Regions from separate parts of the Homo sapiens genome. Here all the other regions are linked to region 1. The links are contacts of gene promoters, found by promoter capture Hi-C in blood cells and fetal thymus (Javierre and others, 2016). All regions are on one chromosome and are shown on one strand. Each heading gives the region's core, a stretch centred on a gene start or on the middle of the fragment in contact. The rest is flanking DNA. Distances are from core to core; before and after follow the strand shown. Region 1 holds the start of COX6A2 (cytochrome c oxidase subunit 6A2). Region 2 has its middle 4.7 kb from the start of FUS. Region 3 has its middle 19 kb from the start of PYDC1. Region 4 has its middle 4.9 kb from the start of ITGAM. Region 5 overlaps ITGAM (integrin subunit alpha M).

Region 1 (6,303 bases), core at 2,590-5,089:
GGGATTCACATAATATTAACAAGGCTAGATCTCCCATTTTTCAGGTCTGCTCTGAAAATGGCTTCAATATTGGCTTCAATTGAAGGCCCCAGCCTGAGGCTCCAGCAGCTCCAAGTCCAGTTGAAGTATAATTGTGTTTCAACAGTCCAAGAGACAGGCCTGAAAATTGGAACTCATGGACTTGTGCCCCTCCCTACAACAATCATCCCAGCCTGGGCAACACAGTGAGACCCATCTCTACAAAAAATTAAAAAATTAGCTGAGCACAGTGGTTTGTGCCTATAATCCCAGCTACTTGGTAGGCTGACATAGGAGGAATGCTTGAGCCCAGGAGTTCGAGGCTGCAGTGAGCTATGAACACACCACTGCACTCCAGCCTGGGTGACAGAGCCAGACTCTGTCTCAAAACAAAATACAAAAAACAATCACTACGGCCAGGTGGGGTGGCTCACGCCTGTAATCCCAGCACTTTGGGAGGCCGAGGCAGGCAGATCACTTAAGGCCAGAAGTTCGAGACCAGCCTGGCCAACATGGTGAAACCCCATCTCTACTAAAAATACAAAAAAGTAGCCAAGCATGGTGGTGTGCACCTGTAATCCCAGCTACTCAGGAGGCTGAGGCTGAATAATCACTTGAACATGGGAGACAGGGGTTGCAGTGTGCCAAGACTGCACCACTGCACTCCAGCTTGGGGGACAGAGTGAGACTCTGTCTCAAAAAAAAAAAATCACTATGACCTGGAGAATAGAATGCTCTGATTGGGTAGGCCTGGATCATGTGGCCCTTCTTGGAGCTAGAGGAGGGAGTCAACCCCACTTGAACTTGAACTGAGAATAAGGGGGGCAGGGGTGTGTGTGTCAGTATCAGAAAAGAAGGCATAGATATATTGGTCATATGACACAAAACAGTAGACATCCACTATCACATAGCCACTGGCCCCTCCCAAGTGCAGAGGGAGCTCAGAGCCCCATTTATTTAGAGTCTATGTCCCTGTTGCCACTGGACCCCACCCCAATGCTGTCTGAGCTCCATCTCTCTGTACCTGTTCGTTCTAGCTAACCCATGTCCTGTATCACAGTTGTTTTTCCAGGACTATTCTAATTTCAAATACGCTGTCCCTAGGGCCCCCATAAACATTTATACTTAGTAGATCACATGTAATCGATCTTTGCTTTAGAAAATGTGGTCATGGTATGCAGCATCCCAGGAAGAGGGCACAAGAGAAACTGACCCTGAGTCATGCCTCCACCTCCTTCACCACCAACAGCTGAGATACTCTGAACAGAGGCTGAGATGCTGCCCTCCGGGGTTTATTTAGCACCTGGTGAGTTTGTTCTTCCCTCTGCCTAAAGTGGAGGAAAAATTAAACCTCTAGAAACTGAAAGTGTTGGCAGCAGCCAGGTTAAGAACTGTGTGAGTGAGAACTTACAGAAACAATGGTGAGTGCACAGCCTGGAAGAGACAGCTCTGCACACCCTCTAGAGAGGCAGGTAAGATGGTGACAAGCCCAGAAAAGCACAGACCACCTGAGCGGAGGTCTCTGGGTACCTGGGCAAGTGCACCTCGTGATGGTGACAGCAGCCCAGGACAGAAGTGGCCCTCCTCAGGGCGTTCTTGACATCCCAGCAAGAAAACCTCTCCACAGGAGCTCCCAAGCTGAGAACAAAGGGATGGGAATTCCCAGGGAATTGTTTGGCAGCAACCAGAAAAACTCTGAGGGGCCTTTTAGGGGAGAAAAGAAACCTAGAACCTTTTCTTCCTTTTTTCCTTCTTTTTTTTTTTCTTGAGAGAGTCTTACTCTGTCACCCAGGCTGAAGTGCAGTGGCACAATCTTGGCTCACTACAACCTCCACCTCCTGGGATCAAGCGATTCTCCTGCCTCAGCCTCCCGAGTAGCTGGGATTACAGGCACGGGCCACCACACCCAGCTAATTTTTGCATTTTTAGTAGAGATGGGGTTTCACCATGTTGGCCAGGCAGGACTCAAACTCTTGACCTCAAGTGATCCGCCCTCCTCATTCTCCCAAAAGTGCTGGGATTACAAGCGTGGGCCACTATGCCAGGCCTCTAGAACTTTGTCAAGTAAAAATACCTGTCTTCATGTCTGTTTTCTCCAGGAGCCATTATCTTATATACGTAGGGAGGGGGCTATGTGTAGAGGGAGATGCCAGGTATCTTTAACTGGAATAGGGCCCCATCTTCTCTGCAACAATGCCAAAGTCCAGCTGGGAAAAAAACTGTAGGAAGAATTCTATTATAGCTCAGTGAGAGCTCAGGAATAATTTTTGTAACACTGTATAACATTTGACTGCTCAAGGAGGTTATTTTTTTTAAAAATAGCAGCAGCTTAAAGTTGGATGGAACATACTGTTCAGTTTATTACCAATGAGAAACAGGTATAGAGCCCCTTCTTGAAAATATATCTTCCTCGTTTTTTTTATATATTAAATTCAGATTATATGTCTATATAATTCATTCTTCTTTTGTATATTAAGTTCATATTAGTACATCAGCCCTTGATCAAAGCTAGAAGCTTCCTATTGGATTGTAATTCTGAAAAGGCATTGTTGTAGGGTTAACCAAAGTAACAAGGTTCAAGCATTCATTACATACATATTTTTAGAACACCTCCTTCATGCCAAGGTCCCTGCCCGTTGCTGAGGACAGAACAGGCAGATGTCATCCCTGCCTGGTCTTGTGGCTTTCTTGTGACCTGCTTTGATAGAGGGTTCACACCAGCCCTGTCTAGGCTTGCTTTCTCCAAGTAGTCATATTTTTCAGATTGAAATAATGCACTTTGCAGTAGACACCTGTCAGGCTTGTGGCTGCCTGGAACCTTTTGAATACTCATCCTAGACCTGGAGATTTTCCCTACAATTCCTGCCTCCCTAAGGCAGAATCCAGAGCTCAGTTTCCCATCCCCTCCTGCAGCTGGGGGACCTAGGGGTTGCCAGTTGGTGCAATCACATAATTCTTTCAGAAAAGAGCGACCCAGGATACAGGTTTCATGAAGAATCTGTTTTCAAGAGGGGATGAGGGTGGAAAATTCTGGTTTTCCAGGGCAGCCTTAATGAAGCTTTTGGCATCCAGGGTCCAGCAGTGTGAGCTGTGGGGGTGTCACTGCAGCTGGCCAACGGAATGACTTGTTTATGACTGTGCAGACTGTAGGCATCTCTGGCTATATCAGACATAGTAAGCTACCTAAGATTCTCAATTACTTATCTTCTAAAACTAGTAAGAGTGAGTTCTGTTCTTTGCAAAGAACTGTGACTAATACATATACTGAACTACTGTTACCTGCCAAAATCCAGGTTGACACATTCCTACCTTACATAAACTTCATAAAAATGATGTAAGGGCCGTGTAGTGGCTCATGCCTGTAATCCCAGCACTGTGGGAGGCTGAGGCGGGAGGATCACGTGAGCTCAAGAGTTCCACACCAGCCTGGACAATATAGTGAGATCCCCGTCTCCAGTATTTAAAAAATCTTTTAAGGTACGAATTATTATACATTTTACAGCTGAAAACACTGAGACTCAAAAAGACACTTAATTCATTCTACAAATATTTATTAAAGCCCAACTGTGTGCCAGCCACCAGGCATAGAATAGGGAACAAAATAGTTTCCCTGCAACTATATAAAAAGAATGGCATATTGTACTTAAATGCCTCCTTGCCAAAATAAGAGGCACAGGACAACAGCTGTCTGGAGATGACCTCAAGCCAGTCAGGCCCCATTTTAAATATAGAAACCCCTAAGAATAGCCGCCAGTGCTCCAGACTCAACAGGTGATTGGCCCAGAGAGGGGAGGTGACCCCAGGCCCCAGGAAAGGGAGCGAGGACAGCGCTGGTTCCCGGCTCCCCGCACCATCATGGCTTTGCCTCTGAGGCCCCTGACCCGGGGCTTGGCCAGCGCTGCCAAAGGAGGCCACGGAGGAGCAGGAGGTGAGTGGGGAACGGGCGGATCCGGGGGCTCCCCTACCCTGCCCACCTGTTCACAGGCCCGCCGCCCCAGGACCGCCGCGCTCACCCCGCTCCGTCCGCAGCTCGTACCTGGCGTCTGCTGACCTTCGTGCTGGCGCTGCCCAGCGTGGCCCTCTGCACCTTCAACTCCTATCTCCACTCGGGCCACCGCCCGCGCCCCGAGTTCCGTCCCTACCAACACCTCCGCATCCGCACCAAGGTACGCGGGACGGGCGCGCGGGCGGCACGGGGGTGCTGCGGGGGCGGGGGGGGGTGCTGCGGGGGCGGGGGGGGGTGCTGCGGGGGGGGGGTCGCGCGGGGCGCGGACTCCGGACTCACGGCGCTCACGCGCGCTCCCTCCCCCGCTCTCTCCACAGCCCTACCCCTGGGGGGACGGCAACCACACTCTGTTCCACAATAGCCACGTGAACCCTCTGCCCACGGGCTACGAACACCCCTGAGGCCCCGGACGCCCCCGGACACAATAAAGGTGTGAAGCTTCGAGTCTGCGGCTCTGTGGGGAGGGCGGGGCCACGGGGAGCGCGCCCAGAGGCGCCCGCTCCGCGCATGCGCCCAGCTTGGTAAGCGCTCCTGCTCCGCGCATGCGCCTAGCGCGGTGGGCGCTCCACGTGCTTTTCCCACGCCGCTGATACGGAGGTGCTCGAGGGAGCCTCCTCCACTCACAGGTAGGCGATCCCAGCTCCCTGTCTCTCACCTGGTAATAATGAGGCCTCCCTCTCACACACACCTATTAATAATTAGGGCTCTAGGCTGTAATGGGCTTCCGCGTACACCGAATCCTCACAGTAACGCTGGGAGCAGGGTATAAATTTAGTTCACCTTCTCCCGAGGAAGACCTGAGATTCTTGGGAATTAAATGACTTGTCCAAGTTCCGGCAGCTCGGCAGAGCCCCCATGGGAGCCCAGGGCTGCAGATCCTGAAGTCCCACTTCTTGCCTGACACCTGAGCTGCTGGTGTCTGTGAATCCCAGCTCTCTGGATTTCAGACGGAGGCTCCACAGTCCTGTGTGTGAGGCCTTGGGACCTAATGCTGGATTTGGAATCTTTTGATAATTCTCTATAATCTTTCTTTCTTTTTTTTTTTTTTTTTTTGAGACGGAGTCTCGCTCTGTCGCCCAGGCCGGACTGCGGACTGCAGTGGTGCAATCTCGGCTCACTGCAAGCTCCGCTTCCCGGGTTCACGCCATTCTCCTGCCTCAGCCTCCTGAGTAGCTGGGACTACAGGCGCCCGCCACCGCGCCCGGCTAATTTTTTGTATTTTTAGTAGAGACGGGGTTTCACCTTGTTAGCCAGGATGGTCTCGATCTCCTGACCTCATGATCCACCCGCCTCGGCCTCCCAAAGTGCTGGGATTACAGGCGTGAGCCACCGCGCCCGGCCTATAATCTTTCTTAATGAGTCTTCTATATGGGAAATCACATGCTCCTAGCCTGGCTCTCCTGGCTTCTGAGTACCTCATTCAAGGGGGACAGGAGTTCAAATGAGCTCTGGACATTTCTTCACCTCCTAGGACAGCCTGCCCACTTACCATTACAGAGGAACCTGAAGTGTGTGAAGAAACCCATGACCAATGCATGCCTGCGTGCACGTGCATGCACATGCACACACACACACACACACACACACACACACACTCTTTGACCCTCTCCCCTGATACACACCTCTCAGCCCCATCAAGAAAAGATGACCTCAGGCTCCCATCACCATAGAAAGTGAAAAAACTTTTTCAATGCCCACAAATAGGTTCCCCCGACTATTCCCAGAGAGGCACTCAGGTCCCTGGGTTATAGCTCTTCCACGCAAGGAAAGTGTGCTATAAACATCCTCATTTCATGTGACAATTCTTAAGCATATGAAAATTTATGCTGGCACCATGCCTGCTTCTGTAAAAAGTGGGTCATTGCTGAAAAAGATGGACAGATATGTAAAAACATTACAATCTCTATCTCTCCGAGAAGGTGCTTAGCACCTGGTAGGTTGCTTAGGCCAGTGCAGATCTATGCAGAAGTTGTTTCCATGTAAGTTGATTTATGGTTGCAAGCAAGTCCAGCCCACAGTGGTAGAGATAAACAGGAAAGTGGATTATTAGGACAAAGGCACATTTGGGGCCACACAGCTGAAATCGTCCCCACTGAATGTGGCAGTGTCTTCAGGCTTGTCCTCCAGCATTTCCTTGTAGTGGCGTTTGAAGAAGCCAAGCTATCAGGGGAAATAAATTAGAAAAGCTGGGTAAGTCCGGGCCCGGTGGCTCACACCTGTAATCTCAGCACTGTGGGAAGCTGAGGAGGGTGGATCACCTGAGGTCAGGAGCTGGAGAC
Region 2 (6,303 bases), core at 1,531-4,030, 250 kb after region 1:
AATACCAGCACTTTGGGAGGCCGAGGCGTGTGGATCACGAGGTCAGGAGTTCGAGACCAGCCTGGCCAACATGGTGAAACCCCGTCTCTACTAAAAATACAAAAATTAGCCAGGCGTCGTCCGCGCATCTGTAATCCCAGCTACTCAGGAAGCTGAGATGGGAGAATCGCTTGAACCCAGGAGGCGGAAGTTGCAGTGAGCCAAGACGTGCCACTGCACTCCAGCCTGGGCAACAGAGCAAGACTGTCTCAAAACAAATAATAATAATAAAGCTGACATTTAATAATGATATACATTGTGCTCATCTATAATATGTAATAGCTAACACTTTAACAAGACTTACTGTCAGGCCCTGTTCTGACTGAGTAAACTCTTGATTTTATTTTTCACAACAAAAGGCTGATGTGAGGATGACATTTTATCTTTTTTTTTTTTGGGGGGACACTGTCTCACTCTGTCACCCAGGCTGGAGTGCAGGGGCGCCGTCTCGGCTCACTGCAACATGTGCCTCCCGCGTTCAAGTGATTCTACAACTTCAACCTCCCAAGTAGCTGGGAGTACAGGTGTGCGCCACCACACCCAGCTAATGTTTGTATTCTTAGTAGAGACGGGGTTTCACCATGTTGGCCAGGCTGGTCTCGAACTCCTGGCCTCAGATGATCCATCTGCCTTGGCCTCCCAAATTGCTGGAATTACAGGTGTGAGCCACCACGCCCTGCTAAGGATGACATTTTACAGATGAGGAAATAAGCATAGAAAGACAGGCAGTTGACCGGGCACGGTGGCTCACGCCTGTAATCCCAGCACTTTGGGAGGCCAAGGAGGGCAGATCACAACGTCAGGAGTTCGAGACCAGCCTGACCAACATGGTGAAACCCCGTCTCTACTAAAAATACAAACATTAGCCAGGCATAGTGGCGCGCACCTGTAGTCCCAGCTACTCAGGAGGCTGAGGCAGGAGAATTGCTTGAACCCCGGAGGCAGAGGTTGCAGTGAGCCGAGATCGCGCCACTGCACTGCAGCCTGGATGATAGAGTAGAGCAAGACTCTGTCTCTAAAAAAAAAGAAAGACGGAAAGTTATGCTGAAGCTACACAGGAAGTGGCAAAGCTGGGTTCCCAAGCCAGGTAGCCTGCTCTTAACCCCTGCGCTTCAGCAAACATTGCCTGAGCACTGCATAGTATGTTCCAATCATGGGGCCGACTGGATGGATATGGATAAAAAAAAGCTCAGTTCCTAAACCACAGGACCAGCCAGTGGGTGAATGTGGGTGAGACACACAGACCACAAAGTGTACTTGAGTGTAGTAAGTGCCATCACATGGAATCAAAGACTGGAAACCCTGCCAGCAGAGTAAGTCATCCATCAGGTGGACAACCACAGAACACTAAAGAGAGATGGTAACCCTGAAGCCAAGGCTTACTGGATAAGTAGAAGTTTGCCAAGCAGCAAGGGAGGAAAGGCTATAATAGGCAGAACCGCGAAGACAAAGGCACAAGTGGGGAAGACACTGAGGCAGAGTTCAGGCTCCAGCTGTGACTCTGGGCTGGGCATGGTGGCAGATGAGACTCGGCCTCAAAAAAAAAAAAATATGTGACTCTGAAAGACTAAATCAAATGGCCATTTCTTTCTTTCTTTTTTTTTTTTTTTTGAGATGGAGTCTCACTCTGTCACCCAGGCTGGAGTGCAGTGACGTGATCTCAGCTCACTGCAACCTCTGCCTCCCGGGTTCAAGCAATTCTTGTGCTGCAGCCTCCCGAGTAGCTGAGATTACAGGCATGCATCACCATGTCCAGCTAATTTTCCTATTTTTAGTAGAGACGGGGTTTCACCATATTGCCCAGGCTGTTCTCGAACTCCTGATCTCAAGTGATCCACCTGCCTCGAATGTTTTAATTTTTTTAACTAGTTGCCAACACTAAAAATAGTGGGCCATTCCAGGCCCACTTCCATAGGGCAAGGGTCAGCTGGAGTGAGACACTGTCACCTTTAGCTGCCATATGTGCTTTAAGTTCACCATAAATGTCTTATTTACTTCCTATCTCTGACAGGAAAGTCAATGTTAAATTTTTCTTTTTTGAGACAGGGTCTTGCTATGTTGCCCAGGCTGGTCTTGAACTCCTAGGCTCAAGGGAATCCTCCCAAAGTGCTGTGATTAAAGGTGTGACCACCACACCCAGTTTCAATTAACATGTATATCAGATATTGGGCCAGATGCGTTCGCTCACACCTGTAATCCCAGCACTTTGGGAGGCTGAGGTGGGCAGATCATGAGGTCAGGAGTTCGAGACCAGCCTGACCGACCTGGTGAAACCCCATCTCTACTAGAGATACAGAAATTGGCCGGGCATGGTGGCGCGCATCTGTAGTCCCAGCTACTCGGGAGGTTGAGGCAGGAGAATTGCTTGAGCCAGGGAGGCAGAGGTTGCGGTGAGCAGAGATTGTGCCATTGCACTCCAGCCTGGGCGACAGAGCAAGACTCCATCTCAATAAAAAAATAAACACGTATATCAGATATTGATTTTTTTTTGAGACAGAGTCTCACTCTGTCACCCAGGCTGGAGAGCAGTGCTGCAATCTCAGCTGACTGCAACCTCTACTTCCCAGGTTCCAGCAATTCTCCTGCCTCAGCCTCCTGAGTACCTGGGATTACAGATGTGCACCACCACACCCAACTAATTTTTTTAGTAGAGATGAGGTTTCCCTATGTTGGCCAGGCTGGTCTCGAACTCCTGACCTCAAATGATCTGCCTGCCTTGCTTTCCCAAGTGCTGGGATTAGAGGCATGAGCCACTGCACCCAGCTCAGATATCCAGATATTTATTTAGTTAGTTAGTTTTAATTTATTTATTTAATTTTTTTGTTTGTTTTTTTGAGACAGAGTCTCCCTCTGTCACCCAGGCTGGAGTGCAGTGGCACAATCTCAGCTCACTGCAACCTCCGCCTCCGGAGTTTGCAGTTCTCTGCCTCAGCCTCCCGAGTATCTGGGATTACAAGCTCCCACCATTACGCCTGGCTAATTTTTTGTATTTTTAGTAGAAACAGGGTTTCACCATCTTGGCCAGGCTGGTCTTGAATTCCTGACCTCCTGATCCACGCGCCTCGGCCTCCCAAAGTGCTGGGATTACAGGTCTGTGCCATCGTGCCAGGAAGTTACATATATATATATATTTATTTATATTTATATATATTTGTTTGAGATGGAGTCTCGCACTGTTGCCTGGGCTGGAGTGCAATGGCGCGATCTCGGCTCACTGCAATATCTGCCTCCCAGGTTCAAGCGATTCTCCTGCCTCAGCCTCCAAGTAGCTGGGATTACAGGCACCCGCCACCACGCCTGGCTAATTTTTTGTATTTTTTTTTAGTAGAGACGGGGTTTCACTATGTTGGCCAGGCTGGTCTCAAACACCTGACCTCGTGATCCACCCCTCCTCGGCCTCCCAAAGTGCTGTTACAAGCATGAGCCACTGCGCCCAGCCCCAGAATTTATTTTTTAAAGACAAGGTCTCATTTTGTTGGCCAGTTTTGTCTTGAACCCCTGGCCTCAAGCAATCTTCCTGCCTCGGCCTCCCAAAGTGCTAGAGTTACAGTTACAGGCATGAGCCACTGCGCCTGGCCTAGATCAAATATTTAATGCAATTTTTCTTTTTCTTTTCTTTTTTTTTTGAGCAGGGAGAGGTTGGTTTTCACATTTCTAGTGGGAGCCATGGGAGGGTCCTCCTTTGGCAGTGGAGGTGCTCACAATTTCTTCAGCCACTCCAAACTGGGGCCTTGGGGGTCCTGGGGGTGGCTGGGCACATCGGGCATGTTCCCATCATTGCAGACAGGCACTGGGTAGTTGTAGGGCCTTGCCTCGTTGATCATGATGGAGTACTTGGTGTGGGGACTAAGTGGGGGTAGAATTACAGTGAGGCTCCGGATGACAGAGGACAAGACCAGCACTGGCTCCTTGGCCCAGGAAATCTTGAGGAAGGTGCTGAGTCTCGTGGCCTTCTTGGTCTCGGTGGTGATGACAGCGGCCTTTTTTTTTTTTTTTGAGATTGAGTCTTGCTCTGTCACCCAGGCTGGAGTGCAGTGGCGCGATCTCGGCTCACTGCAACCTCCGCCTCCCAGGTTCAAGCAATTCTCCTGCCTCAGGCTCCCGAGTAGCTGGGATTATAGGCACGTGCCCCTACGCCCAACTAATTTTTGTACGTTTAGTAGAGATGGGGTTTCACCATGTTGGCCAGGCTGATCTCGAACTCCTGACCTCATGATCTGCCTGCCTTGGCCTCCCAAGCGCTGGGATTACAGGCGTGAGCCACCATGCCTGGCCTCCTTTTTTTTTTCTTTTGAGTTAGGATCTCAATCTGTCACCCAGGCTGGAGTGCAGTGGTGCAATCAAAGCTCACTGCAGCCTCAAATTCCTGGGTTCAAGCAATCCTCCAAATTTGGCCTTACCAGCATCTGGGACTACAGGCCTGCACCACCATGCCCAGCCTCTATTTGGGTTTTTGTTTTTTTTTTTTTTTTGAGACGTAGTCTCGCTCTATCACCCAGGCTGGAGTGCAGTGGCACGATCTCGGCTCACTGCAAGCTACGCCTCCCGGGTTCAAGCGATTCTCCTGCCTCAGCCTCCAGAGTAGCTGGGACTACAGGCGCCCGCCACCACGCTTAGCTAATTTTTTTGTATTTTTATTTTTAGTAGAGATAGGGTTTCACCATGTTTGTCAGGATGGTCCCAATGTCCTGACCTCGTGATCCACCCGCCTCAGCCTCCCAAATTGCTGGGATTACAGGCGTGAGCCACTGTGCCCGGCCTCTATTTGGGTTTCTAAAAAAGAAAGAGGGCCAGGCTCAGTGGTTCATTCCTGTAATGCCAGCACTTTGGGAGGCCGAGGCAGGAGGATCATTTAATAACATAGTGAGACCCTGTCTCTACAAAAAAATTAAAAATGATCTGGGTTTGGTGGTGTGTGACTGTGGTCCCAGCTACTTGGGAGGCTGAGTCTGGGGCAGGGGGGTGGGGTACTATCCAAGAGGTCAAGGCTGCAGTGAGCTATGACTGTGCCACTGTACTCCAGCCTGAACAGCAGAGTGAGACCCTGTCACAAAAAAAAAAAAGAAAAAAGAAAAAGAGAAGGAGAACAGTTAGGGATATATATATATATGTGTTTACTTATGCATAAAATATCTCTGGAAGAAGAAAAACAAGTCATAGCCTATTTCTGAGGAAGGAATCTGGGGAACTTGGGGTCAAGGATTGAAGGAAATTCACTTTTCCTAGATCCTTTTATATTTTAATTTTTCACTATGTGCATATAATGACCAATTTAAAAGCAAACTGACTCCTACAATGCACCACAGCATGGTAGCTGAGGAGGGTATTATACAGGGTAAGACCTGCCACAGGGGAAGAGTGATTACTTTTGCAGTGAGTAGGGTGGGTCAGCCTTCACTGAGGAGTTGACTTTTTTTTTTTTTGAGATGGAGCCTCGCTCTGTCGCCCAGGCTGGACTGCAGTAGTGCAATCTCGGCTCACTGCAAGCTCCGCCTCCCAGGTTCACGCCATTCTCCTGCCTCAGCCTCCCAAGTAGCTGGGACTACAGGCGCCCACCACCATGCCCGGCTAATTTTTTTTTTGTATTTTAAGTAGAGACGGGGTTTCACTGTGTTAGCCAGGATGGTCTCGATCTCCTGACCTTGTGATCCACCCGCCTCAGCCTCCCAAAGTGCTGGGACTCAGGCGTAACCCACCGCACCCAGCTATTTTTTTTTTTTTTTGAGATAGGGTCTCGCCCTGTCGCCCAGGCTGGAGTACAGTGGTACAATCTCTGCTCACTGCAGCCTCAATCTCTTGGGTTCAAAAGATCATCCCGTCTCAGCCTCCCCAGCAGCATACACCACCACGCCCCAGCATTTTTGTTTTTTGTAGAGACTGGGTCTCATCACATTGCCTGTGGCCGGCAAGCCACCCAGGCGCCAAGGCAAGAGACCGAGGACATGAGCTGTTCCAGTATAAAAAAATATAAGACAAGAATAGTTATACCAGATATAGATCTTAGATATGATTATATATGAATATCATTAATCATTAGTTTGTAGCAATTACTCATTATTCCAATATTATAATAATCCTCGCTGTATAATCATAACCTAGGAGAAACCAGGCCATACAGAGATAGGAGCTGAGGGGACACAGTGAGAAGTGACCAGAAGACAAGAGTGCGAGCCTTCTGTTATGCCCAGACAGGGCCACCAGAAGGGCTCCTTGGTCTAGCGGTGACCCCAGCGTCTGGGAAGACGCCCATTGCCAAGTGGACCG
Region 3 (6,303 bases), core at 2,385-4,884, 190 kb after region 1:
GAAGCCAACACCTCCCAGGAGAGCACATGACAGGTGTCACAGATCATAGACACACCAATCATGTGTCACCCAGCCCCTTTTCCTCTGATTAACCTTGACCTTGAAGGAGCCAGCAGAGAGGAGTGGGGAGGGTTCCTTCACCACTTTAGGTCACCTTATTTATATTTACATTAAAAAAAAAAATACTGGGTCTCCTTCTAATTGCCCAGGCTGACACGTAGTGGCCCAATCATAGCTCACTGCAGCCTCCAACTACTGGACTCAAGCAATCCTCCTGCCTCAGCCTCCTGAGTAGCTGGGACCCCAGGCGAGCATCACCATATCCAGCCTTTTTTTTTTTTTCTGGAGAGATGGGGTCTCACTATGACTGGTCACAAACCCCTGGACTCAAATGCTTCTCCCACCTCGACCTCCCAAAGTGCTGGTATTATAGGCGTGAGCCACCGCGCCTCACCAGGTCTCTTTAAATTGGATGTGATATTAACTTTGGAACCGTGCTGGGCTTTTTTTTCATATCTGAAAATGAGACTCCCAAAGTGCAAAGCTATCCTCCCACCTCAGCCTCCCAAGTAGCTGAGACTACAGGCATGAACCACCATGCCTGGCTAATTCTTTTTTGAGATAGAGTCTTGCTCTGTCACCCAGGCTGGAGTGCAGTGACACAATCTCTGCTCACTGCAGCCTCTGTCTCCTGGTTCAAGTGATTCTCCTGCCTCAGCCTCCCGAGTAGCTGGGATTACAGGTGCCCACCACTGCACCCAGCTAATTGTATTTTTAGTAGAGACGGGGTTTCACCATGTTGACCAGGCTGGTCTCGAAATCCTCACCTTGGGTGATCCGCCTGCCTCGGCCTCCCAAAGTGCTGGGATTACAGGCATGACTCATCATGCCTGGCCAAAAAAATTTTTTTTAATTAAATTTTAAAAATAGGCCGGGCGCGGTGGCTCACGCCTGTAATCCCAGCACTTTGGGAGTCCGAGGCAGGTTGATCACGAGGTCAGGAGATCGAGACCATCCTGAAACCCCATCTCTACTAAAAATACAAAAAATTAGCCGGGCGAGGTGGTGGGCGCCTGTAGTCCCAGCTACGCGGGAGGCTGAGGCAGGAGAATCACTTGAACCTGGAAGGCAGAGGTTGCAGTGAGCTGACATCACACCACTGCACTCCAGCCTGGGTGACAGAGCAAGACTCTGTCTCAAAACATAAAACAAAACTACTCACTAAACTTGACAATATTACTTCTGATGAGGAGGAAAAAGAAATAATCAGCACTGGGGGTGTGGTCAAAGGAAACCTTCCCCTTATCTGTAAGATATAATTAAGTACAGACATGCGTTGTTTTATTGTAGTTCACTTTATTGCTTTTCATGGATACCGCATTTTCTGCAAACTGAAGGTCTGTGGCAACCCTGCGTCAAGCAAATCTATTGGTGCCATTTTTTCAACAGCACGTGCTCACTGCACCTCTCTTTGTCAGATTTTGGTAATTCTCACAATATTTCAAGCTTTTCATCATTCTTCTATCTGTGATGGTGATCTGTGATCAGTGATCTTTGAAGTTACTATTGTAATTGTTTTGGGGTACCACAAACCTCAACCATAAAAGATGGTGAACATAATGGATAAATGTGTGCATTCTGACTGCTCCACCAGTCAGTGGTTCCCCTCTCTCTCCCAGTCCTTGTGCCTCTTTATTCTCTTAGACACAACAATATTGAAATTAGTACAATGAGTAACCCTAGTGTCCTCTAAGTGTTCAAGTGAAAGGAAGGGTCATGTTAAATCAAAGGAAGCGTCATGTTAAATCAAATTATTAAGCTTAGCGAGGAAGGCGTTTCAAAAGCTGAGACAGAGGCTGGGCGCAGTGGCTCACGACTGTAATCGTAGCACTTTGGCAGGCCGAATCGGGTGGATCACCTGAGATCAGAAGTTTAAGACCAGCCTGGCCAACATGGTGAAACCCTCTCTTTACTAAAAATACAAAAATTAGCAGGGTGTGGTGGTGGGCGCCTGTAATCCCAGCTACTCAGGAGGCTGAAGCAGGAGTATCACTCGAACCCGGGAGGCGGAGGTTGCAGTGAGCCAAGATCATACCACTGCACTCCAGCCTGGGTGACAGACCAAGACTCTGTCTCAAAAAAAAAAGGCTGAGAGATAGGCTGAAGGCTAGGCCTTTTGCACCAGTTAGCCAAATAGTGAATGCAAAGGAAAAGTTATTGAAGGAAGTTTAAAGTGCTACTCCAAGGCCTGGCACAGTGGCTCAGCTAATAATTTCAATACTTTGGGAGGCCAAGGTGGGAGTATCACTTGAGCCCAGGAGTTTGAGACCAGCCTAAACAACATAGCGAGACCCTGTCTCTAAAAAATATTTTAAAAATTTAAAAATTAGCCAGCATGGTAGTTCACACCTGCAGTCCCAGTACTCAGGAGGCTGAGGTGGGAGGATCATTTGAGCCCAGGAGGTCCAGGCTGCAATGAGCCGTGATTGCACCACTACACTCCAGCCTGGACAACAGAAAGAAATCTTGTCTCAAAAAAAAAAGTGCTACTCCAGTGAACGTGAATAATAAGAAAGTGAAACAGCCTAATTGCTGATACGAAGGAAGTTTGAGTGATCTGGATAGAAGATCAAACCAGCACAACATCCCCTTAAGCCGAAGCCAAATCCAGAGCAAGGTCCAAATGCTCTTCAGTCCTATGAAGGCTGAGAGAGGTGAGGAAGCTGCGGAAGAAAATTTGGAAGTCAGCAGAGGTGGAAGTCAGCAGGGTTCATGAGGTTTAAGGAAAGAAGCAATCTCCACAACATAAAAGTACAAGGTGAAGCAGCAAGTACAGATGGAGAAGGCGCAGCAAGTTCTCCAGAAGATCTCTGATGAAGGTGGCTACACTCAACAACAGGTTTTCAATGTAGATGAGATGGTCTTTGATGGAAGAAGATGGCATCTAGGACTTTCAGAGAAGTCAATGCCTGGCTTCAAAGCTTCAAAGGACAGGCTGACTCTCTTATTAGAGGCTAATGCAGCTGGTAGGGCTTCAAGGTGTAGCCAGTGGTCATTTACCATTTGGAAAATCCCAGGGCCCTGAAGAATGATGCTAAATCCACCCTTCTTGTACTCTAGAAATGGAACAAAGCTGGGGTGACAGCACATCTGTTTACAGCATGGTTGACTAAGTGGTTTTTCTTGTTTTATTTTGGTTTTTTTTTGTTTTTTTGAGACGGAGTCTCGCTCTATTCCATGCTGGAGTACAGTGGCGCGATCTTGGCTCACTGCAACCTCCGCCTCCCAGATACAAGTGATCCTCCTGCCTCAGCCCCCTAGTAGCTGGGATTAGAGGCATGCGCCACCATGCCTGGCTAGTTTTTTTATTTTTGGTAGAGACGGGGTTTCACCATGTTGGCCAGTCTGGTTTCAATCTCCTGCCCTCAGGTGATCCACCCGCCTTGGCCTCCAAAAATGCTGGGATTACAGGCGTGAGCCACCGTGCCCGGCCAAAGACTGAGTGTTTTAAGCCCACTCTGGAGACCTGCTGCTCAGAAAAATAGATTTATTTCCAAAGTTTGCTGCTCATTAACAATCCATCTGGTCACCCAAGAGCTCTGATGGAGATGTCCAAGGAGATTAGTGTTGTTTCCATGCCTGCAAACACAACACGCATTCTGCAGTCCATGGACCAAGCAGTAATTTCGACTTTCAAGTCTTATTACTTCAGAAATACATTTCATGGCCGGGCGTGGTGGCTCAAGCCTGTAATCCCAGCACTTTGGGAGGCCAAGGCAGGTGGATCACCTGAGATAAGGCGTTCGAGACCAGCCTGGCCAACATGGTGAAACCCCATCTCTATTAAAAATACAAAAAATTAGCCAAGAGTGGTGGTGGGCGCCTGTAATCCCAGCTACTTGGGAGGCTGAAGCAGAATTGCTTGAACCTGGGAGGCCGAGGTTGCAGTGAGCTGGGATCACGCCACTGCACTCCAGTCTGGGTGACAGAGCAAGACTCTGTCTCAAAAAAAAAAAAGAAAGAAAGAAAAAAAGAAAGAAATGCATTTCATAAGGCTATAGCTGCCATAGATAGTGATTCCTCTGATGGATCTAGGCAAAGTCAATTAAAAACCTTTTCTGGATAACTTGCAAGTTATTCAGAAAATCTAGCTAAGATCATTGATGAAGGTGGCTACACCTTACAACAGATTTCCAATGTAGACAAAACAGCCTTCTATTGGAAGAAGATGCCATCAAGGACTTTCATAGCTAGAGAGGAGAAGTCAATGCCTGGCTTCAAAGCTTTAAAGGACAGGCTGACTCTCTTGTTAGGGACTAATGCTGCTGGTGACTTTAAGTTGTAGCTAATGCTCATTTACCATTCCAAAAATCCTAGACCCCTTAATAATTATGTTAAATGTACTATGCCTGTCTCTATAAATGAAACAACAAAGCCTGGATGACAACATATCTGTTTATAGCACAGTTGACTGAATATTTTAAGCCCACTGTTGAGAACTACTGCTCAAAAGGAAATTTCTTTCTTTTTTTCTTTCTTTCTTTCTCCATTGCCCAGGCAGAGTGCAGTGGCATGATCATAGCTCATTGAAGCCTCAACCTCCTAGGCTCAAGCAATCCTCCTGCTTCAGCCTCCCAAGTAACTGGAACTACAGGTTTGTGCCACCATGCCTGACTAATTTTTTTTATTTTTTGTAGAGACAGGGTCTTGCTATATTACCCAGGCTGGTCTCAAACTCCTGGGCTCACGTGATCCTCCCTCCTCAGCCTCCTGAAGTGCTGAGATTACAGACACAAGCCACCACATCTTCTCAAAAAGACTCCTTTCAAAATATTACTGCTAATTGACAATGCACCTGGTTACCCAAGAGCTCTGATGGAGATGTACCAAGAGATAAATGTTGTTTTCATGCCTGCTGATATGGTTTGGCTCTGTGTTCCCACCCAAATCTCACGTCAGGTTGTGATCTTCAGTGTTGGAGGAGGGGCCTGGTGGGAGGTGATCGGATCATGGGGGCAGTTTCTAATGGTTTAGCATCGTCCCCCTAGTGCTGCTTGTTTTAAAGCATGTAGCACCTCTCTCACCTCCCGCCAGCCATGTGAAGATGTGCCTTCTTGCCCTTCACCTTCCACCATGATTATAAGTTTCCTGAGGCCTTCCCAGAAGCAGAAGCCTGTACAGCCCACAGAACCATGAGCTGATTAAATCTCTTTCCTTTGTAAATTACCCAGTCTCAAGTATGTCTTCACAGCAGTGTGAGAATGGACTAATACAGCTGCTAACACAACATCTCTTCTGCAGTGCATGGATCAAAGAGTCATTTTGCCTTTCAAGTCTTTTTTTTTTTTTTTTTTGAGATGGACTTTTGTTCTTGTAGCCCAGGCTGGCATGCAATGGTAGAATCTCGGCTCACCGAACCGCCTCCTGGGTTCAAGCAATTCTTTTCCCTCAGCCTCCTGAGTAGCTGGGATTAGAGGCACCAGCCACCATGCCCAGCTAATTTTTGTATCTTTAGTAGAGACGGGGTTTCACCATGTTGGCCAGGCTGGTCTTGAACTCCTGAGCTCAGGTGATCCACCTGCCTTGGCCTCCCAATGTGCTGGGATTACAGGCATGACTCAACCGTGCCCAGCCTCATTATTGTCTTCTTTTAAGAAATTCTTTTTTTTTTGAGATAGAGTCTCACTTTGTCACCCAGGCTGGAGTGTAATGGCATGATCTCAGCTCACTGCAACCTCCGCCTCCTGGATTCAAGTGATTCTCCTGCCTCAGCCTCCCGAGTAGCTGGGATTACAGATGCCCACCACAACGCCCAGCTAGCTTTTGTATTTTTAGTAGACATGGGGTTTTGCCATGTTGGCCAGGCTGGTCTTGAACTCCTGACCTCAGGTGATCCACATACCTCGGCCTCCCAGAGTGCTGGGATTACAGGCGTGAACCACAGCACCTGGCCTAAGAAATTCTTTTAAGAAATTGCCACCGCCACCCCCACCTTCAGCAGTCACCATCCTTATCAGTCAGTAGCCATCGACATTGAGGCAAGACCCTCCACCAGCAAAAAGACTATGACTCACTGAAGGCTCAGATGATCCTTAGCATTTTTAGCAATAAAGTATTTTTAGGCCAGGCGGAGTGGCTCACACCTGTAATCCCAACACTTTGGGAGGCTGAGGCAGGTGAATGACTTGCGCCCAGGCATTTGAGACCAGACTGGGCAACACGGTGAAATCCCATCTCTACTAAACTTAAAAAAATTAGCCAGTCATGGTGGCGTGTGCCTGTAATTCCAGCTACTTGGGAGGA
Region 4 (6,303 bases), core at 2,324-4,823, 170 kb after region 1:
AATATTCAACAGAGGAATGGTTCAATGATACTTCACTCTGTGATATATCCTTACCCTCCCCTGTGTCTGTCACTTTTAATTCTGTTTTCAAAGGCACAGGAAAATAGGTATCCTTCCACACATACATGGAACACAAACCTCACCTTTATGTGACCGCCAATGTGATTCTCAAGCCAATGATTTTTTTCACTCTTTCTCAACACATTTTCTTTTTTTTTTTTTTTTTTTTTTTGTGAAACGGAGTCTCCCTCTGTCGCCCAGGCTGGAGTGCAGTGGCGTGATCTCAGCTCACTGCAACCTCTGCCTCCCGAGTTCAAGTGATTCTCCTGCCTCAGCCTCCCGAGTAGCTGAGAATACAGGTGCTTGCCACCACGCCTGGCTAATTTTTTGTATTTTCAGTAGAGACAGGGTTTCACCATTCAACACATTTTCTTTTGCCTCTAGTTCTACTTTCCCGATAACTAGATGGAAAAAAATGCTTGCTGGCTGAAAAAAAAAAAAGCAATTAAAATTATGTACATTTGGTTAAAAATTATCTGTTTATAATTTTTATATATAGCCAGGTGTGGTGACTCCTGCTTGTAATCTCAGCACATTGGGAGGCCAAGGCAGAGGGATCATTTGAGCTCAGGAACTCAAGACCAGCCTGGGCAACACAGCAAGACCCTGACTCTACAAAAAAATGTTTAAAAATTAGCTGGGCATAGTGATGCACACCTGTGGTCCCAGCTACTCAACAGGCTGAGGTGGGAGGATCGCTTGAGCCAAGGAGGTTGAGGCTGCAGTGAGATATGATTGCACCACTGCACTCCAGCCTGGAAAACAGAGCCAGACCCTGTCTCTAAAATATATATAGGCAGGGCATGTAATATATACAGGCACGCCTGTAATCCCAGCACTTCGGGAGGCTGAGGTGGGAGGATCACCTGAGATTAGGAGTTCAAGACCAGCCTGGCCAACATGGTGAAACCCCATCTCTACTAAAAATACAACAATTAGCCAGGCGTGGTGGCAGGCACCTGTAATCCTAGTTACTTGGGAGGCTGAGGCAGGAGAATCACTTGAACCTGGGAGGTGGAGGTTGCAGTGAGCTGAGATTGCACCATTGCACTCCAGCCTGGGCAATAGAGCTTGACTCAGTTTCAAAAAATAAAAAATTAAAATTAAATAAATAAGTACATACATACAAAAATAAATCATATATATATATATATATATATATATATATATATATATATATATATGCAGGAAAACCAAATGTTAATAGTCGTTATCTCCAAGATAGGAGGATTACAGGTATGTTCCAGTATCTATTGCTGCAGAGCGAGCTACTCCAAAACTTCATAGTTAAAAACAGCAGCATATTATAATCTCTCGCGTATCTGTGAATCTCCTGGCCTCAGCAGTTCTCAGCGGGGTCTCTCACATGATTGCAGTCGGATCACAACCAGGGCTAGAGTAATCCAAAGCTCAGTTGGGCTGGGCTCCCAAAATGGGTCACTCCCACAGCTGGCAGTTGGCCGTGGGCTAGGAGCTCAGTTGGGGCTGTCACCTGGGCACCCCCACGTGCCCTCTCCATGTGGCTTGGGCTTCTCGCAGCATGGTGGCTGGACTTCAAGAGCAAGTGTTCCAACAGACAGGAAGCAGAAATTTCCAGGCTACTAAGGTCTTGATCTGGAAACTGGCGCCAAGTCATCTGCACCACATTCCATTGATCAGGCAGTCACAGAGCTCATCCACATTCAAGCAAAGGGGACACAGATCCCACCTCCCAATGGGAGGAATTTGTGGTTGTATTCAATCTGCTACAAGATGACTTTAATATTCTTTTCTATATCATTTGTACTTAAAATATTTATATAGGCTGGGTGCAGTGGCTCATGCCTGTGATCCCAATGCTGTGGGAGGCCAAGGCAAGAGGATCACTTGAGCCCAGGAGTTTGAGGCTACAGTGAGCTATGACCTCAACACTGCACTCCAGCCTGGGCAACAGAGCAAGACCATGTCTCAAAGAGAAAAAAAAAAAAGACCTTTATACAAAAAAAAGACTCATAATCATAAAAAATACCAATAGATAATTTAAAACAACAGGTTACCTGTATTTGTTAGCAGGTAAAGAAGCTGAGGAAAGGACGAACGAAGTCATGAGCCCAAGATGAGAAGATACCAACCAGGGTGCCCGGGGAGGAGTTTAGTAGATCAGCTGGGTTTGCTTTGGGAAAAGTTTTCACACTCTGGCCACTATGGGGGCTGCTCGAACTCAGACGTGGAGGCCCCTCCTTGCCCTGAACAGTGGCCAAGGGTCCACTCTCTGTAAAAACATAGGCAAGATCTCAGACTGGCTGTCCAACCTGCAGAGGCTTTCTCAATGAGCCACCACCAAGTGTGCACCTGACCTGGTGACCGTGGGTGGGGACATATCTATAAGCTGTTGGCTGTTCCCTCCTACCTGTCCCCCATCCCCACTCTTGATAAAATCTTAGCTTGATTTCCCCTATAAGTGGACTCTGAGACAAGGCTTCAAGTGTAAGTAATTTATCTGGAAGGTGATTCCGGAAACACTGGTGGGAAAGTGAGGAAAAGAAGGAGCTAATGCCAGGCACAATGGCTCACTGCCTGTAATACCAGCACTTTGGGAGTCCAGAGTGGGAGGATCGCTTGAGCCCAGGAGTTCAAGACCAACCTGGGCAACATAGGAAGATTCTGTCTCTTAAAAAAAATTTTTTTTTAATTATCTAGTGTGGTGGTATGCACATGTAGTCCCAGCTACTCAGGAAGCTGAGGCAGGAGGATCACTTGCACCCAAGGGGTCGAGGTTGCAGTGAGCTATGATCATGCCACCATACACTGTACTCTAGCCTGGGCAACATAATAAGACCCCGTCTCTTAAATTTTTTTAATTAAATAAATAATTAATTAATTAAACATTAATATGTATCAAACAGGTGTGGGAAATCAAACTATCTCCCTGAAAACGCACTTCGCAAAATGTCCCTTGGACATTTTGAGCCCAAGTGTTGGAGGCTGCAGTGAGCCATGATCACACTACTGCACTCCAGCCTGGGCAACAGAGTGAGACCTTGTCTCAAAAAAAAAAAGAAGGAAGAAAGAAAGAGCTTATAAAAGATATGTAATTAAACAAATTACTGGCCGGGCATGATGGCTCACGTTTGTAATCCCAGCACTTTGGGAGGCTGATGTGGGTGGATCACCTGAGATCAGGAGTTCGAGACCAGCCTGGCCAACATGGCAAAACCCGTCTCTGCTAAAAATACAAAAATTAGCCAGACATGGTGGCATGCGCCTGTAGTCCCAGCTACTCGGGTGGCTGAGACAGGAGAATGCTAGGAACCCGGGAGGTGGAGGTTGCAGTGAGCCGAGATCATGCCACTGCACTCCAGCCTGGGCAACAGAGCAAGACTTCATCCTCAAAAAAAAAAAAAAAAAAAAAAAAAAAAAAGATTATTGACCTGGTGCAGTGGCTCACGCCTGTAATCCTAGCACTTTGGGAGGCTGAAGTGGGTGGATCACTTGAGGCCAGGAGTTTGAGACCAGCCTGGCCAACATGGTGAAATCCCATCTCTACAAAAAATACAAAAATTAGCTGGGCATCATGGTGCATGCCTGTAATCCCAGCTGCTCGGGAGGCTGAGGCATGAGAATTGCTTGTACCCGGGAGGCAGAGGTTTCAGTGAACTGAGATTGTGCCACCACACTCCAGCCTGGGCAACAGAGCAACACTCCATCTCAAAAAAAAAAAAAAAAAAAAAAAAAAAAAGAATAGAGAGATATGTCATCTTCATGGATGACAAGACTACAAGACTACAGATGTCAGTACAGATGTCGGTTCTCCATTTAATTACTCAAATTCATTATAATCTCACCCAGCAGAATTTTTCTAGAATTTGACGTGCTGATTCAAAAATTGACTGGACTAGAAAACACACAGCAATAGCCTATAAAGCAATGGGACATACCTTACAATGTCATGTTATTCCATAACAAGTACCCTATCAAAGCAATATTCTAAAGCCACAGTAGGTAAAAGTACAGTGTTGGCTCTGGAATAAGTATATAAGACCCTCGGAAAGAATACAAAATACGTATGTAGAAATCTGGTGTTCCCATCAGAAACAATACATTTCTCCTACTGAAAAAGCAAACAAGACTTTCTTTGATTCCACTCCCCTCATCAACCACTGCCCATTTTTTACTTCCCTTTTGCAAAACTTCTCCAAAGTAGTTGTCTGTGTTGGCTGCACCCTGTTCTACTGCTCACATCCTCCCTTAACCCCATTCCAACCAAGCCTGTGCTCCAACCCGGCACCTACTCCACCTAAACTATTTTTATCAAGGTCACCAAGGCTGCCTGAGTGACTCCAGTGATGAGTTCTGTCTTCATCTTGAGTGACTCAGCAGCAGCTTCTGACACTCGGCCCTCGCTTCCTGGAACTGATTTCTACATCTGTCCTCTGACCCCACACTCTCCTGCTTCCCGCCTACCGCCCATGACCCTCCTTCTCAGTTTCTCTTGCTGATTCTCCTCTTCTCCCAACCTCTTCAGAAGGATCTCAGAGCTCAGTCCTTTGACTGCCTTTTTTCTTTTTTCCAACTCCTGGGTTCAAATGATCCTCCCACCTCAGCCTCCTAAATAGCTGGTACTACAGGCATGCGCCCCCATGTCCAGGTAATTTTTCAATCTTTTTGTAGAGACGGGGTCTCACTAAGTTGCCTAGGCTGGTCTCAAACTCCTAGCCTCAAGCCATCCTCCCACCTCAGCCTCCCAAAGTGCTGGCATTACATGCGTGAGCCACCGTGCCCAGCCGAAGTCAATTTTCAGTACAGCAGTCAGAGGGATTGTTTCAAAACACAAGACATATCATGCCACTCCTCTGCTCAAAACCTTGCAAAGGCTCCCACGTTACTGATAGTAAAAGCCAGTCCTTTCTACAACCTACAAGGACCTGCATGACCTGTCATCCCAACCCCAGCCCTTACCTCTCTGAGCTTACCTCATTTTCTGGGACAGCAGCCACCCTGGCCTCCTTGCCATTCCTCAAACCTGCCAGGCACACCACCACCTGAAGGCCATGGCACTGGCTGTTCCCTCTGATGGAACCAATCTTCCCCCAGGGATCGGCAGGCTCACTGGCCCACCTCCTTCAAACAAGTGGGTTTTGCATCACATGACTCTCTATACTCAACTTCGCAAACCTTCTTTGCCACATTCCTCAACATTTTCCAGTTTTGCTCTCAGGGGAATGAAGGTATCAGGTCTTCATCGTCCCTTTTCCTGCACAGCACCCAGGGTCACGGCTTCTCTCTTCCCAACAAAATCTCCCAGTCCCACCTCTCCAAATTTCCTTCCTTGTCTACACAGACAAATTATCTCCGTCTGAGCTCCTCCAATTTGCTTCGCTCACCACACTCGAAGAAACTTGCTACAGGATCCGCCCTCCTGAGAAAGTTGTGGGAAGAACAAGAATAAAATACTGTTTTTCCATTGCACTGGATTGTCAAGAAAAGTTCCTGTGATCCTGTCAGGCCTCTGAGCCCAAGCTAAGCCATCATATCCCCTGTGACCTGCATGTATACATCCAGATGGCTTGAAGCAACTGAAGATCCACAAAAGAAGTGAAAATAGCCTTAACTGATGACATTCCACCATTGTGATTTGTTTCTGTCCCACCCTAACTGATCAATGTACTTTGTAATCTCCCCCACCCTTAAGAAGGTACTTTGTAATCTCCCCGACCCTTAAGAAGGTTCTTTGTAATTCTCCCCACCCTTGAGAATGTACTTTGTGAGATCCACCCCTGCCCGCAAAACATGGCTTTTCACCCCCTATCCCAAAACCTGTAGGAACTAATGATAATCCACCACCCTTTGCTGACTCTCTTTTCGGACTCAGCCCGCCTGCACCCAGGTGAAATAAACAGCCTTGTTGCTCACACGAAGCCCGTTTGGTGGTCTCTTCACATGGACACGTGAGACAACCCCAGCTACCCAGGAGGCTGAGGTGGGAGAATCACTTGAGCCCAGGAGATTGAGGCTGCAGTGAGCTGATTGCACCACCGCACTCCAGCTTGGGCAACACAGCGAGACCCTGTCTTAAAAAAAAAAAAAAGTAAGAAAAAAAAGTTCCACCTGAGTGTCATCCTCAGCCATCTGGTTAAGCCTTTGGGTCTGGAATCAGACTAAGGGCACTAAAATCCTAGGTCTACGCCGGGTGTGGTGGCTCACACCTGTAATCCCAGCACTTTGGGAGGCTGAGGCAGGTGGATCACCTGAAGTCAGAAGTTT
Region 5 (6,303 bases), core at 1,692-4,191, 130 kb after region 1:
TGAAAGGAGTACTGTGAGAACTTATCTGGCAGCTGTGGGCACACTGAATTAGGAGAAAGATCAACAAAGAGGCTACTGTCATGACAAGGACAGTGACCAGGTCTCACCTGGCTATGGGAGGGGCTGATGCCAGATCCTGAGGTTCCGTGAAACAGGTAAACAGCACCCCGGTTGTCCTCCTCTCCTGGGGCCCCAATGGCCACGTCCGTCAGCTTGTCCCCATTTACGTCCCCCAGCACTGTTAGGGCTGCCCCAAAGCGGCCCCAGGGTTGGCCCTGCTCCCCGTAGAGAACAGCATCACACTGCCACCGAGCCCTCTGCTAAACACAAACAGTATCAGGCCCCAACCCAGGCGACCCCTCCACCCACACCGGGCCCCACCCAGCCCAGGTCCCATTGCCACTCACCCCCCTGGGCAAGGGGCACACGGACACCTGGCCCCCTCGGGTCTGCTCGTAGTAATGGGGGGCCCCGATGAGGACCAGGTCGGTGCTGCCGTTGCTGTCCACGTCCACGGAGCAGAGGGAGGCCCCGAAGTAGGCGCCGATCTGAAAGAGACAGGACCGTAATCACACACCTCTTCCCACCTAAAGCAGATGTGGAGGTTTTCTCTCTCTGAAGAAAAGTTATGCCTGCTGGGGGAATCCCTCTGGAGCAGATGTGATCTTCTATATGGTTCATGATAAATTATCACTTGAATGTGCTGCCAGCTAAAGGAACCTATATAATAAGCCTGGCAGAATGGTTTCTGCCTGTAATCCCAGCTCCTCGGGGGGCTGAAGTGGGAGGATCCCTTGAGCCAAGGAGTTTAAGGCTGCAGTGAGCTTTGTCACCACTGCACTCCAGCTTGGGCAACAGAGCAAGATCCCAATCTCTAAGTGTATATATATATTTTTTAATAATTTAAAAGATAAAAAATAAGCCTATAGTAGAGTCAATGGGCAGTGAGTGAGGATTTACTCCAGGTGGTATTCCTGGGAGATTATTAAGGCAGCAAAGAAGAATTTGGGTTGGAAAATACATAGAAAATTCTAGAAGAGAAGACAGAATACCACCCTTTCAATATATTGGGAATCTTTAGGGAGGTAAAAAGTCAAAGTTGGCACTCTGACTAATAAGGCTAATAACTGGCTTAGATTAAAAATAACTATTTGTTATTTGAATATTTGTTGTGATATTAAGAAATATCTTCAAGGTCAATATGTAGAATTCATCCATAAAATTCACCTATTTAATCATACATTCATTCATTCATTTATTCATTCATTCAACAAACAAGTGTTTCTTATTGCTAAGCACACAGCTGGGTAATAGAGATACAGTGCCTTCCAGGGCCCTCAGTGCAGCCAGGTGGAGGAGAGGAGAGTAATCAATGGATTAACAGGGAGATGTGTATAGCAATTTCAAACTGGGACAAGTTCTAGAAAGGGAATGTGCAGGGGACATCATGCCACGGCTCTGCAACGTGATTTCTGCCTCATACACCATTGAGGGAAGACTCATTGATAACTGAATACTTTATCCTAAAGTCAACAGAATTTGATTGTTTTTTAGGTCAGATTTATTGGGGAAGAGTTTACATACAATAAAATTCAGCCTTTTAGTACATAGTTTTATGAGTTTTGACAAACATATAAAGTCATATAACCGGCCAGATGCAGTGGCTCATGCCTGTAATCCCAGCATTTTGGGAGGCCAGGGCGTGTGGATCACCTGAGGTCAGGAGTTCGAGACCAACCTGGAAATCATGGTGAAACCCCATCTCTACTAAAAATACAAAAAAAAAAAAATTAGCAGGGCATGGTGGCGGGCGCCTATAGTCCCAGCTACTCAAGAGGCTGAGGCAGGAGAATGGCGTGAACCTGGGAGGTGGAGCTTGCAGTGAGCCGAGATAACGCCACTGCACTCCAGCCTGGGCAACACAGAGAGACTCTGTTAAAAAAAAAAAAAAAAAAGATAAAAAGATAATAACCATGATCAAGTGTGATTTATCCCTGGGATGCGAGATGCAAGGATGATTCCACATATGCAAATCAATTAATGTGGCATATCACATTAACAGAATGAAGGACTAAAACCACATGATCATCTCAATATACGCAAAAAAAAGCATTTGACAAAATTCAACATTCTTTTATAATAAAAACTCTCAATAAATTCGCTACAGAAGGAATGTACCTCAATATGATAAAGGCCATATACGACAAGCCCACAACAAACATCATACTCAATGGTGAAAAATTGAAAGCTTTACCACTAAAATGAGGAAAAAGGCAAGAATGCTCACTCTCACTACTTCTATGTAACATAGTACTGGAAGTCCTGGTCACAGCAATTAGGCAAGAAAAATAAATGAAAGAGACCCAAATCAGATATAAAAAAGGAAATTTGTCTCTGTTTACACTTAAAATGATATATATATAAAAACATATATATATAAATATATTTTTAAAAAACCCTAAAAACTCCACCAAAAAAGAACTACTAGAACTAATGAATAAATTCAGTAAAGTTACAGGTTACAAAATCAATGTGAAAAATCAATAGTGCTTCTATACACTAACAATGAACTATCTGAAAAAGAAATCAAGAAACAATCTCATTTACAATAGCATCAAAAAAAATACCTAAGCTTAAATTTAACCAGAGAGGTGAAAAACATGTACACTAAAACTATAAAACATTGATTAAGGAAGTTAAACAAGACAAAAATAAATGGAAAGATATCCTATGTTCATGGACTGGAGTATTAATGCAATCTTCTGATTCAGTACAATCCTTATCAAAATCCCAATGGCATTTTTTTACAAAAATAGAAAAAAAACTAAAATTTATGTAGAACCACAGAAGACCCTAAATAGCCAAAGCAATCCTCAAGAAAAAAAATACTGGAGGCATCATAATTCCTGATCTCAAAACATACTGTGTCAAGAAAGCTCTAGTAAGCATAACAGCAAGGTGGTGGCATAAAAACAGACACATCAACCAATGGAACAGAACAGGGAGGCTAGAAATAAAACTATGCATTTATGGTCAATTGATCTTCAATAAAGGTGCCAAGAATATGCAAAGGAGAAAGGACATTCTCTTCAACAAATGGTGTGGGGAGAACTGGATATTCATATTCAAAAGGATTAAATTAGACCTTTATCCCAAACCATATACAAAATCAACTCAAAATGGATTAAAGACTTAAACACAAGACCTGAAACTGTAAAACTACTAGAAGAAAACAAAGGGAAAAGCTTCTTGACAATCAAGCTTCTGAGAAATGATTTTTTGGATATGACCCCAAAAGCACAGGCAACAAAAGCAAACCAGACAAATGGGGTGGCATCAAACTAAAAAGTGTCAGCTTAACAAAAAAAGAAAATTTCAGGCCAATATTCTTGATGAACACTAATGCAAAAATCCTCAACACACTACCTGCAAACCAAATCCAGCAGCACATCAAAAATCTAATCCACCATGATCAGGTAGGCTTCATTCCCGGGGTGCAAAGTTGGTTCAACATATGCAAATCAATAAATATGATTCATCACATAAACAGAACTAAAGACAAAAACCACATGATTATCTCAATAGATGAAGAGAAGGCTTTAATAAAAGTCAACACCCCTTTATGTTAAAAATTCTCAATAAACTAGGTATTGAAGGAACATACCTCAAAATAATAAGAGCCATCTACAACAAACCCACAGCCAACATCATACTTGATGGGCAAAAGCATTCCCCTTGAAAGCCAGCACAAAACAAGGATGCCTTTGCTCACTAGTCCTATTCAACATATTATTGGAAGTTCTAGCCAGAGCAATCAGGCAAAAGAAAGAAAAAAGGGCATACAAATAGGAAGAAAGGAAGTAAAAAAGTCAAACTATCCCTGTTTGCAGACAACATGATTCTATATTTAGAAAACCCCATAGTCTTGGCCTAGGAGCTCCTTCAGCTGATAAATAACTTCAACAAAGTTTCAGGATACGAAATCAATGTACAAAAATCACTAGCACTCCTATACACCAACAAGAGCTGGGAGCCAAATCAGGAAGGCAATCCTATTCACGATTGCCACAAAAAGAATAAAATAACTAGGAATACAGCTAACCAGAGAGTTGAAAGATCTGTACAGTGAGAATTGTAAAACACTGTTCAAAGAAATCAGAGATGACACCAAAAAAATGGTAAAACATCTCATGCTCATGGATAGGAAGAATCAATATCATTAAAATGGACACACTTCCCAAAGCAATTTATAGATTCAGTGCTATTACTATTAAGCTACCAATGACATTCTTCACAGAACTAGGAAAAACTATTTTAAAATTCATATGGAATCAAAAAAGAACCTGAATAACCAAGTCAATCCTAAGCAAAAAGAACACAGAAGGAGGCATCACATTACCTGACTTCAAACTATACTACAGGGCTACAGTAACCAAAACAGCATGATACTGGTACAAAAACAGGCACATAGACCAATGGAACAGAATAGAGAGCCCAGAAATAAGGCCATACACCTATGACCATCTGATCTAAGACAAAAATAAGCAATGGGGAAAAGAATTCCTATTCAACAAATGGTGCTAGGATAACTGGCTAGCCATATGCAGAAGATTGAAACTGGACCCCTTCCTTACACCATATACAAAAATCAACTCAAGATAGACTAAAGACTTAAATGTAAAACCCAAAACTATAAGAACCCTGGAAGACAACCTAGGCAATACCATTCTAGACACAGGAATAAGCAAAGATTTCCTGACAAAGACACAAAAAGCAATCTCAACAAAAGCAAAAATTGACAAATGGCATCTAATTAAATGCAAGAGCAAAAGAAACTATCAACAGAGTGAACAGACAACCTAAAGAATGAGAGAAAATATTCACAAACTATGCATCCAACAAAGGTGTAATATCCAACATCTACAGGGTACTTAAACAAATTTACAAGAGAAAAACAACGCCATTAAAAGGTGGGAAAAGGAAATGAACAGACACTTTTCGAAAGAAGACATGCATGCAGCCAACAAGCATACAAAAAAAGCTCAAAATCATTATCATTAGAGAAATGTAAATCAAAACCACAATGAGATACCATCTCACACCAGTTAGAATGGCTATTAGTAAAAGTTAAAAAATAGATGCTGGTGAGGTTGTGAAGAAAAGGGAACACTTATACTGTTGGTGGGAGTGGTAAATTAGTTTAACCACTTGGGGAAAGCAGTATGGCAACTCCTCAAAGAGCTAAAAGCAGAACTACCATTCAACCCAGCAACCCCATTACTGGGGATATACCCAGAGTAATATATATCATCCTACCATAAAGACACATGCACATGAATATTTATTGCAGTACTAGTCACAATAGCAAAACATGGAATCAACCTAAATGCCCACCAATAACAAATAGGATTTTTTAAAATGTGGTACATATACACCGTGGAATACTATGCAGCCATAAAAATAGCAAGATCATGTCTTTTGTGGGAACATGGATGGAGCTGAAGGCCGTTATCCTTAGCAAACTAACACAAGAACAGAAAAACAAATACTGCATGTTCTCACTTATTAGTGGGAGCTAAACTATAAAGAACTTATGAACACAAAGAAGGAAACAACAGACACTGGGGTCTACTTGAGGGTGGAGGTTGGGAGGAGGCAGGAGCAGAAAAAATAACCATTGGATACTAGGCTTAATACCTGGGTGACAAAATACTCTGTACAACAAACTCCCATGACATGAGTTTACTTATATAACAAACTTTCATGTGTACCCTCAAACCTAAAGTAAAAGTTGAAAAATTATAAAATATCAATCTAATTTTTTTAAATTAAATAAATAAATAAAAAGTGACAGCTACTTAATGGTATGTATCAAGATTCTTTTCAAAATTCTTTTGGATACTCTACTTTTTTATTTTTTATATAAATTTTAGAATTGGCTAAATTCTGCAAAATATACTTCTAGGATTTTTACCTTTTTATGAATATGTAATAATTGCACATATTTATAGGGAACATGTGATATTTTTATACAAGCATACAATGTGTGATGATCAAATCAGGGTAACTGGGATATCCGTTGCCTCAAGGATTTATCATTTCTTTTGCTGGGAACATTCCAATTCCATTCCTGTAGTTATTTTGAAATACACAATAAATTATTGTTAACTATAGTCACCCTACTGTGCTACCAAACACTAGGTCTTATTTTTCCTAACTGTATTTTTGTACCCATTAACCATCCCCTCTTTACCCCATCCTCCTTACTACCCTTCCCAGTCTCTAGTAACCCATCATGCTACT

Evidence for each region. Contacts are between HindIII fragments. The CHiCAGO score rates a contact against its expected background, and 5 or more counts as called.
Region 2: a contact is called between a fragment that was not itself captured here and the fragment with the promoter of COX6A2 in region 1, in 9 of 17 cell types (M1 macrophages, M0 macrophages, total CD8 T cells and 6 more). The highest score is 14.1, in M1 macrophages.
Region 3: a contact is called between a fragment that was not itself captured here and the fragment with the promoter of COX6A2 in region 1, in 2 of 17 cell types (monocytes and M1 macrophages). The highest score is 5.6, in monocytes.
Region 4: a contact is called between a fragment that was not itself captured here and the fragment with the promoter of COX6A2 in region 1, in 5 of 17 cell types (M0 macrophages, M1 macrophages, endothelial precursors and 2 more). The highest score is 7.2, in M0 macrophages.
Region 5: a contact is called between a fragment that was not itself captured here and the fragment with the promoter of COX6A2 in region 1, in 8 of 17 cell types (M0 macrophages, megakaryocytes, M2 macrophages and 5 more). The highest score is 8.3, in M0 macrophages.

What each region holds. Positions count from the first base shown.
Region 1 is chr16:31,425,896-31,432,198 of GRCh38, reverse strand. It overlaps COX6A2 (cytochrome c oxidase subunit 6A2), which reads left to right and starts at 3,839. Exons shown (of 3, transcript NM_005205.4): 1 at 3,839-3,946; 2 at 4,048-4,184; 3 at 4,342-4,468. The coding sequence starts at 3,874. The coding sequence ends at 4,425. ITGAD (integrin subunit alpha D) reads right to left here. Exons shown (of 30, transcript NM_005353.3): 30 at 5,694-6,184. The coding sequence ends at 6,071. The HindIII fragment of the contact is 1,386 bases long and covers 3,079-4,464 here.
Region 2 is chr16:31,172,259-31,178,561 of GRCh38, reverse strand. It overlaps the pseudogene NDUFA3P6. Among named protein-coding and RNA genes, the nearest start is that of FUS, 4.7 kb to the left of the region's middle. The HindIII fragment of the contact is 8,665 bases long and covers 1-6,303 here.
Region 3 is chr16:31,233,307-31,239,609 of GRCh38, reverse strand. No RefSeq gene overlaps it. Among named protein-coding and RNA genes, the nearest start is that of PYDC1, 19 kb to the right of the region's middle. The HindIII fragment of the contact is 1,302 bases long and covers 2,984-4,285 here.
Region 4 is chr16:31,251,927-31,258,229 of GRCh38, reverse strand. No RefSeq gene overlaps it. Among named protein-coding and RNA genes, the nearest start is that of ITGAM, 4.9 kb to the left of the region's middle. The HindIII fragment of the contact is 7,238 bases long and covers 1-6,303 here.
Region 5 is chr16:31,291,759-31,298,061 of GRCh38, reverse strand. It overlaps ITGAM (integrin subunit alpha M), which reads right to left. Exons shown (of 30, transcript NM_000632.4): 13 at 408-548; 14 at 108-317. Among named protein-coding and RNA genes, the nearest start is that of ITGAM, 35 kb to the right of the region's middle. The HindIII fragment of the contact is 613 bases long and covers 2,635-3,247 here.